3 separate regions of the Homo sapiens genome follow, and all the other regions are linked to region 2. Evidence: promoter capture Hi-C in 16 types of primary human blood cells and fetal thymus (Javierre and others, 2016). All regions are on one chromosome and are shown on one strand. The core of a region is centred on a gene start or on the middle of the fragment in contact, and the rest is flanking DNA. Distances in the headings are between cores, read along the strand shown. Region 1 holds the start of ZDHHC3 (zDHHC palmitoyltransferase 3). Region 2 holds the start of ACTR8 (actin related protein 8). Region 3 overlaps KIF15 (kinesin family member 15).

Region 1 (3,810 bases), core at 344-2,843, 8.9 Mb before region 2:
GCCACAACAGGTGGGGCACCTGTGCCTTCATTAGGGAGGAAATCCTTCCGGCTTCACCTCTTTCAGTTTCCCTGGAAGGCAAAGTCCAACCCTGCAAGCTGTCTTCCTTTTAGGTGCCCCTGTGGAGAATTACGTAGAGACATAAGAAACATCTAATGTCCAGTCTACGAAGAACTGATCATCAATTTTGGAGCTCAGCAGTTTAATGCTTAAGAATGTGAGCAAGCACTTCCTCTCTATAACCTTATCAGACGACCTCCCAATCCCACTGTGCCCACTGATGCGACCATCATAGCTCTAACCACCATGATCTGTGGTTATGTTGGCCCTGGAGCCTTCATCTGCCCAGGGAACTTCTCTGGGCATAGTATGTTTTACTTGTCTTGTGTTCTAAAGGTAGCACAAAGCCTATCTATAGTAGGCTCCCAATAGTTATCTGAAACTGTATTTGAACCCACTATCTGATAAATACCATTTTTTTTTTTTTTTGGCTGAGGGTCCTCAAAAATGGAACATCAGGAAAGTCATCAGAATTGCTTTAACCTGCCCTCCTTGCTTCAACTAATTTGGGTTAACTTTCTCCCATTTATCCACACGGCTCCTTTAAAACTTGCACCATACTTTGTCAGCCCCGCCTTAATGAGTTCCTTTGGTGACCCCAGCTTCACCTTGCAGATATCCTCTCCGGGTATCCAATGCCCATACTCCCACTCGGCCATCGCAAGGGGTTGGGGTTGGCTTTTTTTCGGGCAACTGCTCACAGCTCCCAGTAATCACTTCCATCAAGCCGGGGTTTCCAGTTCCCGCTAGGAAGCGTTGGGGACGTCCGGGCACTGCGCACCTCGCCAGTGCCGGTTACCAAGCGCCTCCTCCCCCGTCTGTGGGACAACGCTCTGGTAAGCACCCGAGGCAAGAGGTCCCAGCAAGGTAATGGGACAGCGTTCGGTCACAGAGAGTGAGCGAGCCAGCGAGAGATATTCCTGGGTGGAGGGGTGGGGACGCCTTAGGACTAGTGTCCCCCATTCCCGGACCCTTCCCACCAAGAACTACCTAGGGAGGGCTGCATCGCCTCTCCAGCCATCCTAGGGACTAGAGAAATGGAGGGGAGAAGAGCAGGGAAACAGCACCCCCGGGCCAATCACGACGTCCGCCCCTCCTTAGTCGGGGTCTCTCTCTCTCTCTCTCTCTCTCTCACACACACACACACACACACACACACACACACGCTCCTAAGTCAACTCCAGCTCTGAGCAACTACGCCGCACGCCTCTCCCACTGGGAGTCCCCCGGCCCGTGAGGCTCGCCTCACCCCAGCTTCTTCACCCCTACCCCAGTTTCCCTTCCCAACTGACCGTGAAGCCGGAGGCAGTTCCCCAGTCCCAGACCCCGGTGGGGCTCCCGCCGCCGCCGCCGCTGCCTTCCCCTGCAGTCCCCAACCCGGGACCCGGCCTCGGGCTTCGGCGATGGCTCCTCGGAACGAGGCGCCGCGGCTCTCTGGACTCGGCCAGACACCGGGCGGCGCGCAGGAGAAGCCCATCGAGCTCTCCCGGCAGTGGCGGCGGCCGCGGCTGCAGGAGCGGCCGCCGCGCAGGTTGATGACGCGCTGACGCGGGGCGGGGGGGGGTGGGACGTGGGGGCGCGGTCCAGAGGAGGGGACGCGCGCAGATGACGTGCGGCTCGTGGGGCAGCTCGGCAGCATGGCGTCCGTGACGCTGAGCGAGGCGGAGAAGGTGTACATCGTGCATGGCGTCCAGGTAGCTACAGCAGCGGCGTTGGGTCGGCCGCCGGGTTCAGCCTGGCCCTGCGGGTCGCGGCCTGCCCTGGGTTTGCCAGTGAGGAGGCAGCCGAGCTGCGGCGACTCTCCGTTTACCTTGTGATTAAACGGTTCTGCTGCCGGCGTTTGCAATTCAGAGCTGGCAACGTGGACGTTTTTAGGACTGTTAGCGCATTTGCAGTTTTGCGGGTCTATAAGATTCCGAACCCGGGCAGGAAGCTTGGGCAGTCTCGGAGGCCTTTTCTTAGTGAGAGAGCATCGGCCCCAGGGCCATCCATTCGGCGTTCGCGCACAGATCTTGTCCGAGCCTCAGTTTTCTCTTCGAGGAAATGGGAGTTTGGAGGTGGGCTTCTGGCCTGCTTTTCCTCACCTCGTGGTTAGGAGGGCGCATGCGAGGTGAACGCACTTTGAAAATACAAATTGCCGTACAAATAAAGGGGGAAGGGTTTTTAAAAAGCGGCTAGGACGCCTGTAATCCCAGCACTTTGGGAGGCCGAGGCGGGCGGATCACGAGGTCAAGAGACCGTCCTGACCAACATGGTGAAACCCCGTCTCTGCTAAAAATACAAAAAAATTTAGCTGGGCGTGGTGGCGCACGCCTGTAGTCCCAGCTACTCGGGAGACTGAGGCAGGAGAATCGCTTGAACCCGGGAGGCGGAGGTTGCAGTGAGCCGAGTCTCAAAAAAAAAGCGGCTAGGCAGCCGATAGCCTAAGTGCTGTTTCCATTTTGCCAATGAAGAACTAAGATCCCTAGGCAGCTATAACCTAATGTCCTCTGTGTTCTATATTAAATCCCTGGTTATGACCACTCCAGAACGAGGGTTGAAAAATGTTGGACCTGGTAACGAGCTACCCTGTATCCTCCTCCGGCTGTGTCTCCACTTGTTAACCTACGGTGTGGTCCTCCTATCAGAGTTCTTCATCCCATCCTTGGCAGAGTTCTGGCGACAGCTCCTACCTCTTTTCCTCATGCCTTTCCTCTGTCAGTACCAACTGCAAAGTCAGTGGTCCCGTGATGTAGCCATCGGATTGAAGCGGCCAGCTATCATTGAAGTCCCACAACGTGAGTTAAGGACATGTCCATTTAAAAATCGTGACCTGCCGTTATCTTCTGGGCCCTTTATATATGAAGAAATGCCAATATTTAGCATATTATGCCTGGATAATAAAGTCAGAACTCACAGTTGCATATTTTAGTTATAATTCAGGATTAACAACAGTGGGACATATGTGTGTATTACAGGGTAACATGTATGTTATTTGTGTGTGAGGGGGCATAAAAATGCCCAAAAGCAGTTAGATATGTCTTTCCCTGCTATATTTTTGTATACACTTTGTTCAGGTGATTTTTATCCTCAAAGTATTTTTTTAGGGACACATTACGGATAACCGTTTTCCTCTAAATTTAAAAACCTTTGGTCTTCTTTGTTACCGGAGCTTACCATGATGTAGTGACTCTGTCATGTGTCCTATTTTCTCTCAACATTTCATCCCTGAAAGTGGCACTGAGGCATGGATATATCTGTAACCTCAAGGTTAGAGCTTTCTCCCCAGCACCCTTAATTCCCACGGCAGTTCATTAGCTATCCAGCAGCAGAGTCCCACCATGGTCATTAGTTAATTTTATTTACCAACATATATCTAGCTCCTGGCATGTTATGTGGGAAACAGCAGGGATGCCAAAACATGGTTGTGAAATAAATGAAAGATAGGAGGGAGACAAACAGAGAGTAAAAGTGAATAAAATAAAAACAAAGGTAATGTAAGATCTATGCCAAGGAAGTGGTATAGTTAGTGGAGGTTGAAGTTAAAGTATACCAGGGGCCGGGCATTGTGGCTCACGCCTGTAATCCCAGCACTTTGAAAGGCTGAGATGGGAGGATTGCTTGAGCCTAGGAGTTTGAGACCAGCTTGGGCAACACAGTGAGAGCCCATCTCTAAAGAAATAATTTTTTTTTAATAAATAAAAAGAATTCCAGGGACTTGTAATGCTCTGAAGGCTTCCCTAAGGAGGTGGAATTGCTCCCCTAAATCCA
Region 2 (3,845 bases), core at 163-2,662:
ACATCCTCTGTTGGCACAAGTGTCTTCCACACTGTTCTTCTTCCCTGAGATTCCCTCCTCCCTCTGGTTAGCTCCTAATCACCTTCAGGACTCTAAACAGATGTCACCTCACCTCCTTTGAAGAAACCCTCCCTGACTGTCGGGGATGGAGGAGGTACTTGCTTGAGTGCCCAATACTGCCCTCTGCACAAGCCCATTCCATGCCATGCTCTGATACCTGTTGTCCTATCTCCAAGTGTGACCTCTCTCCTCCTAATCACCCCCCACAGAGTGGGAGAATCCTAGAGGGAAGGATCTGGCAAGGCCCTTACAGACCATCCAGTCAGCCTTCTCAACTAGACAGATGGAGAAACCAGGCCTGTGCAACAGTAATGGCCACTCTGGGCTTACGGTGTGCCAGGCACTGTCATACTAGTGATAACTAACTAGTAGCTGCCCTACTAGTTAGGTATTATCCTTAACCCATCTACCGGTAAGGAAGCTGGATCAGAGATGTCCTACATGAATTTCTGAGCAGTTTATGCCTCATTTCTTCTGTGAATTGTACACTGCCTGTGCCCGTTTTCCTACGTGAATGCTGTTTTAGTTACTGATCAGTAAGGTTTTGTGTATGTGTATACATCTAAGGTCCTCTGCCAGGCACGCTACTGCAAATAATTTTTTCTGGTTAGTTTAGTTTGGTCTAATAGTGTTGTTTTTGATACACAAGCTCTTAATATATATTTAGACAAATGTCCACCATTTCCTTGCTTTTAAGCTTGAAATGACTTCCATTATCTGAGATTTCCTTAACAAAGGAAAAAGCCTGGACCCCAAACTATCCCTTAACAAGCACAGGCTGACGCTCCCAGTGAGCCAGCCTGGTCCTAAACTCTATCTGCCACCATTTAACCCTCACGGCAACTTGCGAGGCGGCTGGTTATCACCGTGGTCGTTTTATGGTCGGGGAAGCTGAGGCCAGAGCCCGGGCAGGAGCGCACACAACCAGACGGTGGGGCGTGCGGGAGATCGGAGCGGTGTCCCTGCGGGGGCTCCGCCTGGCTCCTGGCGCTCCGCACCTCCCAGCCCTCGGCGTCCCGGCGCGCCACCACCCGGAAAAGAACGACCGCTTCCGCACTCCCCCCACCAGGGGCTGGGGCCTGCAAGGGGGACTCGAAGCCTCCCGCCGCCTCCCGCCCCTTGCCTGGCAGCGGAGGACCCAAGCAAGGGCAAAGAGTTCCAACCCAGCCAGAGCCGCACCTCTTGCAGCGACTCCGGCACCAGCGCGGGCACGATGGGCCGCTTCACGCCGCGCTGCTCCTTCTCCTTCTCGCCGCCCTTCTCCTTTCCGTTCTCCGTATCACCCTTCTCAGCCTGGGTCATTATGGCCGGAGACACCCACCAACCTCTCGCCTCAGCGCTGCAGCCACGACTGCCGGGATGGAAGGGCCACCGCGCAGGCGCACGGCCGGCTGCCCACAGTCAAGATGGCCGCCGCGGAGTCGCCCCAGAGGGCTCCGAAAAGGCGGGGGTGGGGCTGCCCGGCGCAGGGGCTGGGGGCGGGGTGTGCATGCGGATTGATTGGGTGGGTGTTGCTGTGATTAGTCCTGACTGTGTAGATGCCAGCAACATAGTACACATAGCTTTTCGAGCGCCTAGTGGGGGTCGGCTGATAACCCGCATCTTATTTCGTCCTCACAGGCATCTCTTCTCCTGGCTTCCCAGATACCATATGTACTCTTAGTTTTTCTCATATGTCTTCATGTTCAGTCCAGCCTCTGATGTTGGGGTTAGGTCTTTTCCAGGCACACTCCTTGGGTGACTATCCAGTTTCCTGGCTTTAGCAATGAATACGATTCCCAAATATATATATCCAGGATGAACCGCTCAGAGAGATCCGTACTGATAACCAGTGCCTACTTGGTCTCTCCATCTGGATTGTCTACAAGGCACTGCAAACTTAAATATGTCCAAAATTTAACTCTTGATTCCCTCCCCTCTCACTTTCACCATCTCAGTAAATGTCATTTTGATTCTTCACTTGTTGACAGCTTCTACATCCAATCCATCAGTAAATCCTGCAGTCTCTAAAATAGATCTTGAATTCATCCACTTCTCCATTCCCATGCCACTACCTAGCCCAAGCCACTATCATCTCACCTGGATGACTACAACAGCCTCTTAACTCGAACTCCTTGTCCTGTCCCCCTATGATCTGTTCTTATATAGTTGCCCACGTTGTTTTAAAATATTACGTAGTTAATACTACTATGTACCCAGCACTCCACTAAGACTTACCTCAAAAATTAGATGTCACTCATGCTTTAAACTCTAATGGTTTCCCTTTGCTCAAAGAACAGAATCTAAACTAACCACCACCTAAAGACCATATCTAGTTATTGCTACATTTCTAAGTTCACCTCACAACACTCTCCCCATTCCTTGGCATTTCCAGCTACACCTGTTTTATCTTTCTCAGACATGCCAAGCCCTTCCCGTCATCGGGCTGTTGCACTTGCTGTTCATTTTGCCTTGGATGCTCTTCCCTCAGCTGTCTCATTCTCACGTCTGAACTCAAATGTCACCTCAGGCCTTCCGCAGTTATTCTCTCATCATCCTATTCCCTTTGAAGCATGAAGCATTAGTCTGTAATTATCATGCCTGCTCACTGTCTCCCACACTAGAATGTAAGCTCCGTGAGACTTTGCCAGTTATCTTCAGCACATGGTAGGTGCCCAATAAGCATGTGATGACTAAATACTAAATAAAGAACTCTTGGAGGTAAAAATTTAATCCCCGTTTTACAGGTGAGTGAAGTGGGATAAAATGGCATAATTCACTCAAGATCATAAGCTATTGAGTAGCAAAGACAAGAGTTAAGCATAAAGTACTCAAGAACCTGTGTTTTACATTCTATCTGAAGTGCAAAGAAGAATACCTGAATGTCAAATGCAGCCAGAACTCTGGGATAAGACCCGAGGAACAAGTCCTGCAGCAGCAGTGCTAGGAGGCAGAAGAGGACCATGGTTCACATGCTCAGGAAGAGCCATCAGTAACAACAATCAACCACCTACTGAGACTCTGCCATGGTCTCCCCGCTATAGGGTAAGGTGGAGGTTTAATAATGCCTCTGCCATTCACTGGCAATACAATCTAGGAAGCTGCCAAACTTTACTGAACCCTTGCATGTATCTGTATAATGCAAATGTCATTATACATTTACCTCACTTTGTATATATGTATACATTATACATATCCCTCACTTTGTCAGAATTTAAAATGTGTAAAAATTTACAGGCTGGGCATTGTGGCTCACACGTGTAATCCCAGCGTTTAGGGAGGCCATAGTGGGAGATCACTTTAGCCCAAAAGGTCAAGGCTGCAGTGAGCAGCCACTGTACTCCAGCCTGGATAAGAGTGAGACCCTGTCTCAAAAATAAAAATAAAAAATAAAAATAAAATAAAAATTAAAAAATAAATAAAATCTGACACATAATTGAGGTGGCCAGCAAACTGTTATCCTTATCCTGAAACCTGCATTGTAATTGCTTCTTTATCCTGAATATTGGTATCTTATGCCACAACATCCCATTTCCCGACAAACGGGGTTGAATAAATGCTGATAAATCAATATAAAAAGGCTTTCACCTGAACACTTGGTTTCAAAGCCTGTTAAACACCAGAAGAGGAATTATCTGTTTTCGTTTTTCCAATAAATATTTATTTCCAATAAATACTACATGACTATCTTACATGTAGTCACTATTCAAAGGACTGGGGTAAAGACAACAAAATTCCTAGTCTCAGAGCTTCCACTCTAGTGAAAGAATGTGAAAGTTATCAGTATTCAGATGGAGTTTAAAGCC
Region 3 (3,840 bases), core at 1,251-3,750, 9.1 Mb before region 2:
CTCTCAACCACACTTGTCTGGGACTTTATCTGAGCATCAGGTAGCTAGCTGGAGACACAATGATACACTGACATCCTGCTACTCTGTGGAGGAACCCCTTGCAATTAGGAGCTGGAGGGATCCCTGTGTTCTTGGCTGCTGCAATCTACAGTGGAGTGTTTGCCTTGCTGAGATGGGAGGGAGACAGCAATCTTGTTTCAAATAACACAGGATCAACTTTCTTGATGAATTTTCATGAATGTTCTTGAACAGATGTTTCTTGGTTTGCTGTTTGTCTTTGGGAACATTTCCAGAGGCTTTAATTTTCTTTTCTTTTCTTTCTTTCTTTTTTTTTTTTTTTTTTTTTGAGATGGAGTCTCACTCTGTCTCCCAGGCTGGAGTGCAGTGGCGTGATCTCGGCTCACTGCAAGCTCCGCCTCCTGGGTTCACGCCATTCTCCTGCCTCAGCCTCCTGGGTAGCTGGGACTACAGGCGCCTGCCACCATGCCTGGCTAATTTTTTGTATCTTTAGTAGAGACGGGGTTTCACCGTGTTAGCCAGGGTGGTCTCGATCTCCTGACCTCGTGATCCGCCCGCTTCGGCCTCCCAAAGTACTGGGATTACAGGTGTGAGCCACCGTGCCCGGCCAACTTTCTTTTTTTAAATTTCACCAGTTTCACTGGGGAGTGGGTCAGTGGAATTCCTCATAATGTCATGTCAGAAGTCAATCTCTGAACTCTTTTTTAACAGAATTATTCTGCCCGCTAGGTTGAGAAAAGATGAGAGTGGGGGAGAAAGAGAAGCAGAAAGACTATTGTAATAACACAATAAAGAGATATTGCTGGCTTGGTTCTACACTGTGGCAGTGGATTTGGCAAGAAGTTGTTGGATTGTGGGTATATTTTGAAATTAGAGCCAAAGCTTTGCTGAGATTGGATACGAAGAGTGAGAAAGAACAGGGTCAGGGATGACTATATGGTTTTTGGCCTAAGCAACTGGAAAGATGGAGTTAACGGAGATGTAGAAACACATTTGGGCTAGAGGTGGGGTGATCAGGAGCTCAATTTTGGACACATTAAATTTGATTCATTGCCCACTGCATATCCAGTTAGAGATATCAAATAGGTAATAAGTTGTAAGAGTGTGGAGCTCGGCTGGGCGTGGTGGCTCACGCCTGTAATCCCAGCACTTTGGGAGGCCGAGGCGGGTGGATCATGAGGTCAGGAGATGGAGACCATCCTGGCTAACAAAGTGAAACCCCGTCTCCACTAAAAATACAAAAAATTCTCAGGGCGTGGTGGCAGGCCCCTGTAGTCCCAGCTACTCCGGAGGCTGAGGCAGGAGAATGGCATGAGCCCGGGAGGTGGAGCTTGCAGTGAGCGGAGATTGCGCCACTGCACTCCAGCCTGGGCAACAGAGCGAGACTCCATCTCAAAAAAAAAAAAAAAAAAAAAGGAGTGTGGAGCTCAGGACAGCAGTCCAGGAAGGTTTAAATTTGTGAATCATCAATTTGTACCTAGTATTTAAAAACAGGCCAGGCATGGTGGCTCACTACTGTAATCCCAGCACTTTGGGAGGCCAACGCGGGCAGATCACAAAGTCAGGAGATCAAGACCATCCTGGCCAACATGGTGAAACACCGTCTCTACTAAAATACAAAAAATTAGCCAGGCGTGGTGGTGCACCCTGTAGTCCCAGCTACTTGGGAGGCTGAGGGCAGGGGAATTGCTTGAATCTGGGAGGTGGAGGTTGCAGTGAGCCAAGATCGTGGCACTGCACTCCAGCCTGGTGACAGAGCAAGACTCCGTCTCAAAAAAAAAAGAAAAGAAAAGAAAAAAAAAACCACTGATGCAAGATTTTTTGCTCCTTAGCTCAGCTAAAATCCAAGTTCGTGTTGCATGACCAGGAAAAATCAGGCACGCGGACACATCGAAAGATGAGGAGAGTGGAATTTATTAAAAGGAAGCTCTCAGTGAAAAAAAGTGTGATACACCAGCTGAAGAGGCCAGGCTTCTCCCCCTGCATAAGGTGCAAATTCCCAGTGGCTCCACTCCATTCTCCCAGGGCGCATGTGGGCCTTTAGTCTGAGCCACTCCACATTGATTTATTTTCCTTACTGCGCATGTGTTAAGGGACAGAATTTTTCAGTGACCCGGCAGGCGTTTGGCTGTCTCCTGTCTCTATCATTCCCCACTCTAAAGAAGTACATCTAACTGCCCTTAGAATAAAGATAAGGACAAAGACCAATCTTAACTGCTTCCTGCTGACAGGGGGTGCTGTGTTGGGAAAATGGCAGTCAGATTTCCCTAAGAGGCCAATCTAAAGGTTCCTGGCAAAAGGGACCATTATCTGAGGCTCCAGTTGCACGACTGGAGTTTGATGACCTGAAGGCGAGAAGAGACAAACTGAGTTATTAGAAAACATGTATCAAAACAAAACAAGGATGGGGTAAGGACAGAAGTCATGCCAGAAGTCATGCTCGAAAATCCCGAGGCCTTTTACTGGTTTGCACAGGGAGAGGGAGGCCAAAAGCCTGATTGTTAAAAGTTAAAAAAAATTTTTACCCTTTTGCTGGCTTGTCAGTCTTCGAGGTTCCCTTCCCCCAAGCCCAGTCCTAAGCTATTCTCAAGTTTAAGGTTTGGGAAATTAACTTTTCGCAGTTTAGAGGATGGATCCAAGGGGAGTGTGCTGTAGTAAGGAGACACAATTACCTATCTGTGAAGAGAGGACACAAGGGGAAAAGGAAAAAAGAAGGTGTTTTTTTCAAAGGAGTCCCAGGGGTTCAGGATGTATTCAAAAAGGCCACAGACTGAAGATGAATGGCAATCCATCAAGAAAGAGGGGAGCAGGTGTCCCTGGTTCCTTTCTCTTCCTAGTGAATACCCAGGGTAGGTGAGGGAGGGAGAAAGTGACGTGCCCCTTTTCATTTCTTCTGTCCTTATATCCCCAAGACCTGGGTGATCATCAAAGGGTGCCACCCATGAATGTCAAAGCGGCTTTCCCCCATGTTAACAGGGCTTACCCACGTACGCCCTATCTCCCCTGCTGTCAGTAGCCTTCAAGTTCTCTAGACCTCATTTATGTCGTGGATACTAGCATGATGTTTATCCATGAAACAGGAGGCTTGGCTTAATCGGCAGGAGTTAGTCATGCTCACCTGTGCTGTGCTTTTTAACTTCTGTTACCGTCTGCTTCTGGATCCCTCAGATCCAGTTTTTTTTTTCTTAGGGCTTTGACCTGAAGTTGGGAATTGAGTTTGGGACCAAAAATATGTCTCAGGGGTTGTATGGACTCCTTATCATAAGCTGAATGCTAAGGTGAAGCTGTGAAAGGGGTCCTCCTCCAAGGGAAAGAAAAGGATGCCCTGTGACACACCCAGATAACTGGTGGCTATAGTTATGTTTGCTAAGATTTGGGTGCATGGAGCTTGGCTTTGGTTAGCTCCCTTGGTCTTACTTTCCCAAAAAGGAAACCTCTGGATGACAGGCACTGTATTTATTCCCACCACCTAGCAGGATTTGCAGGATAATTGCTTAGAACTAGAATATTGATTCAGATTTTTACATTACCCATCCCCCTTTGTTCCTTCTGGGCTGTAGTTGGAGATCTCTGGTTGGATCACAGGCATAAGCAGGGTTAGTTTTTAAACGAACTAGGCAAAAAACTTGAAAACAACTAGTGGGTCTAGAATTTAATGATGATAAGTTTTTAAACATAATTTATCTCTCTCCAGTCCTCAGTTTTCTTAAAAACAAACCATGATAGGACTGAGTTGTTTGCAAAATAGACTTTGGTCTTATACTTGGCTTGATTCTTTGCATGAAGTGCAGCAAGAATACTTATTTTTACAGAGGGCTTTTA

What was found. The method cuts DNA at HindIII sites, captures the fragments that hold promoters and counts their contacts. A CHiCAGO score of 5 or more calls a contact.
Region 1: a contact is called between the fragment with the promoter of ZDHHC3 here and the fragment with the promoter of ACTR8 in region 2, in 1 of 17 cell types (total B cells). The highest score is 8.7, in total B cells.
Region 3: a contact is called between a fragment that was not itself captured here and the fragment with the promoter of ACTR8 in region 2, in 1 of 17 cell types (non-activated CD4 T cells). The highest score is 10.6, in non-activated CD4 T cells.

Annotation. Positions count from the first base shown.
Region 1 is chr3:44,974,581-44,978,390 of GRCh38, forward strand. It overlaps ZDHHC3 (zDHHC palmitoyltransferase 3), which reads right to left and starts at 1,594. Exons shown (of 7, transcript NM_001135179.2): 1 at 1,353-1,594. EXOSC7 (exosome component 7) reads left to right here and starts at 1,664. Exons shown (of 8, transcript NM_015004.4): 1 at 1,664-1,754. The coding sequence starts at 1,698. RefSeq lists an enhancer at 574-1,118 and silencers at 1,341-1,440, 1,561-1,630. The HindIII fragment of the contact is 4,817 bases long and covers 1-1,991 here.
Region 2 is chr3:53,880,740-53,884,584 of GRCh38, forward strand. ACTR8 (actin related protein 8) reads right to left here and starts at 1,413. Exons shown (of 13, transcript NM_022899.5): 1 at 1,240-1,413. The coding sequence starts at 1,362. SELENOK (selenoprotein K) reads right to left here. Exons shown (of 5, transcript NM_021237.5): 5 at 3,678-3,845. RefSeq lists silencers at 1,040-1,149, 1,540-1,629 and an enhancer at 1,300-1,379. The HindIII fragment of the contact is 9,111 bases long and covers 756-3,845 here.
Region 3 is chr3:44,766,483-44,770,322 of GRCh38, forward strand. The region is part of intron 1 of KIF15 (kinesin family member 15); the gene reads left to right. Among named protein-coding and RNA genes, the nearest start is that of KIF15, 6.6 kb to the left of the region's middle. The HindIII fragment of the contact is 3,204 bases long and covers 899-3,840 here.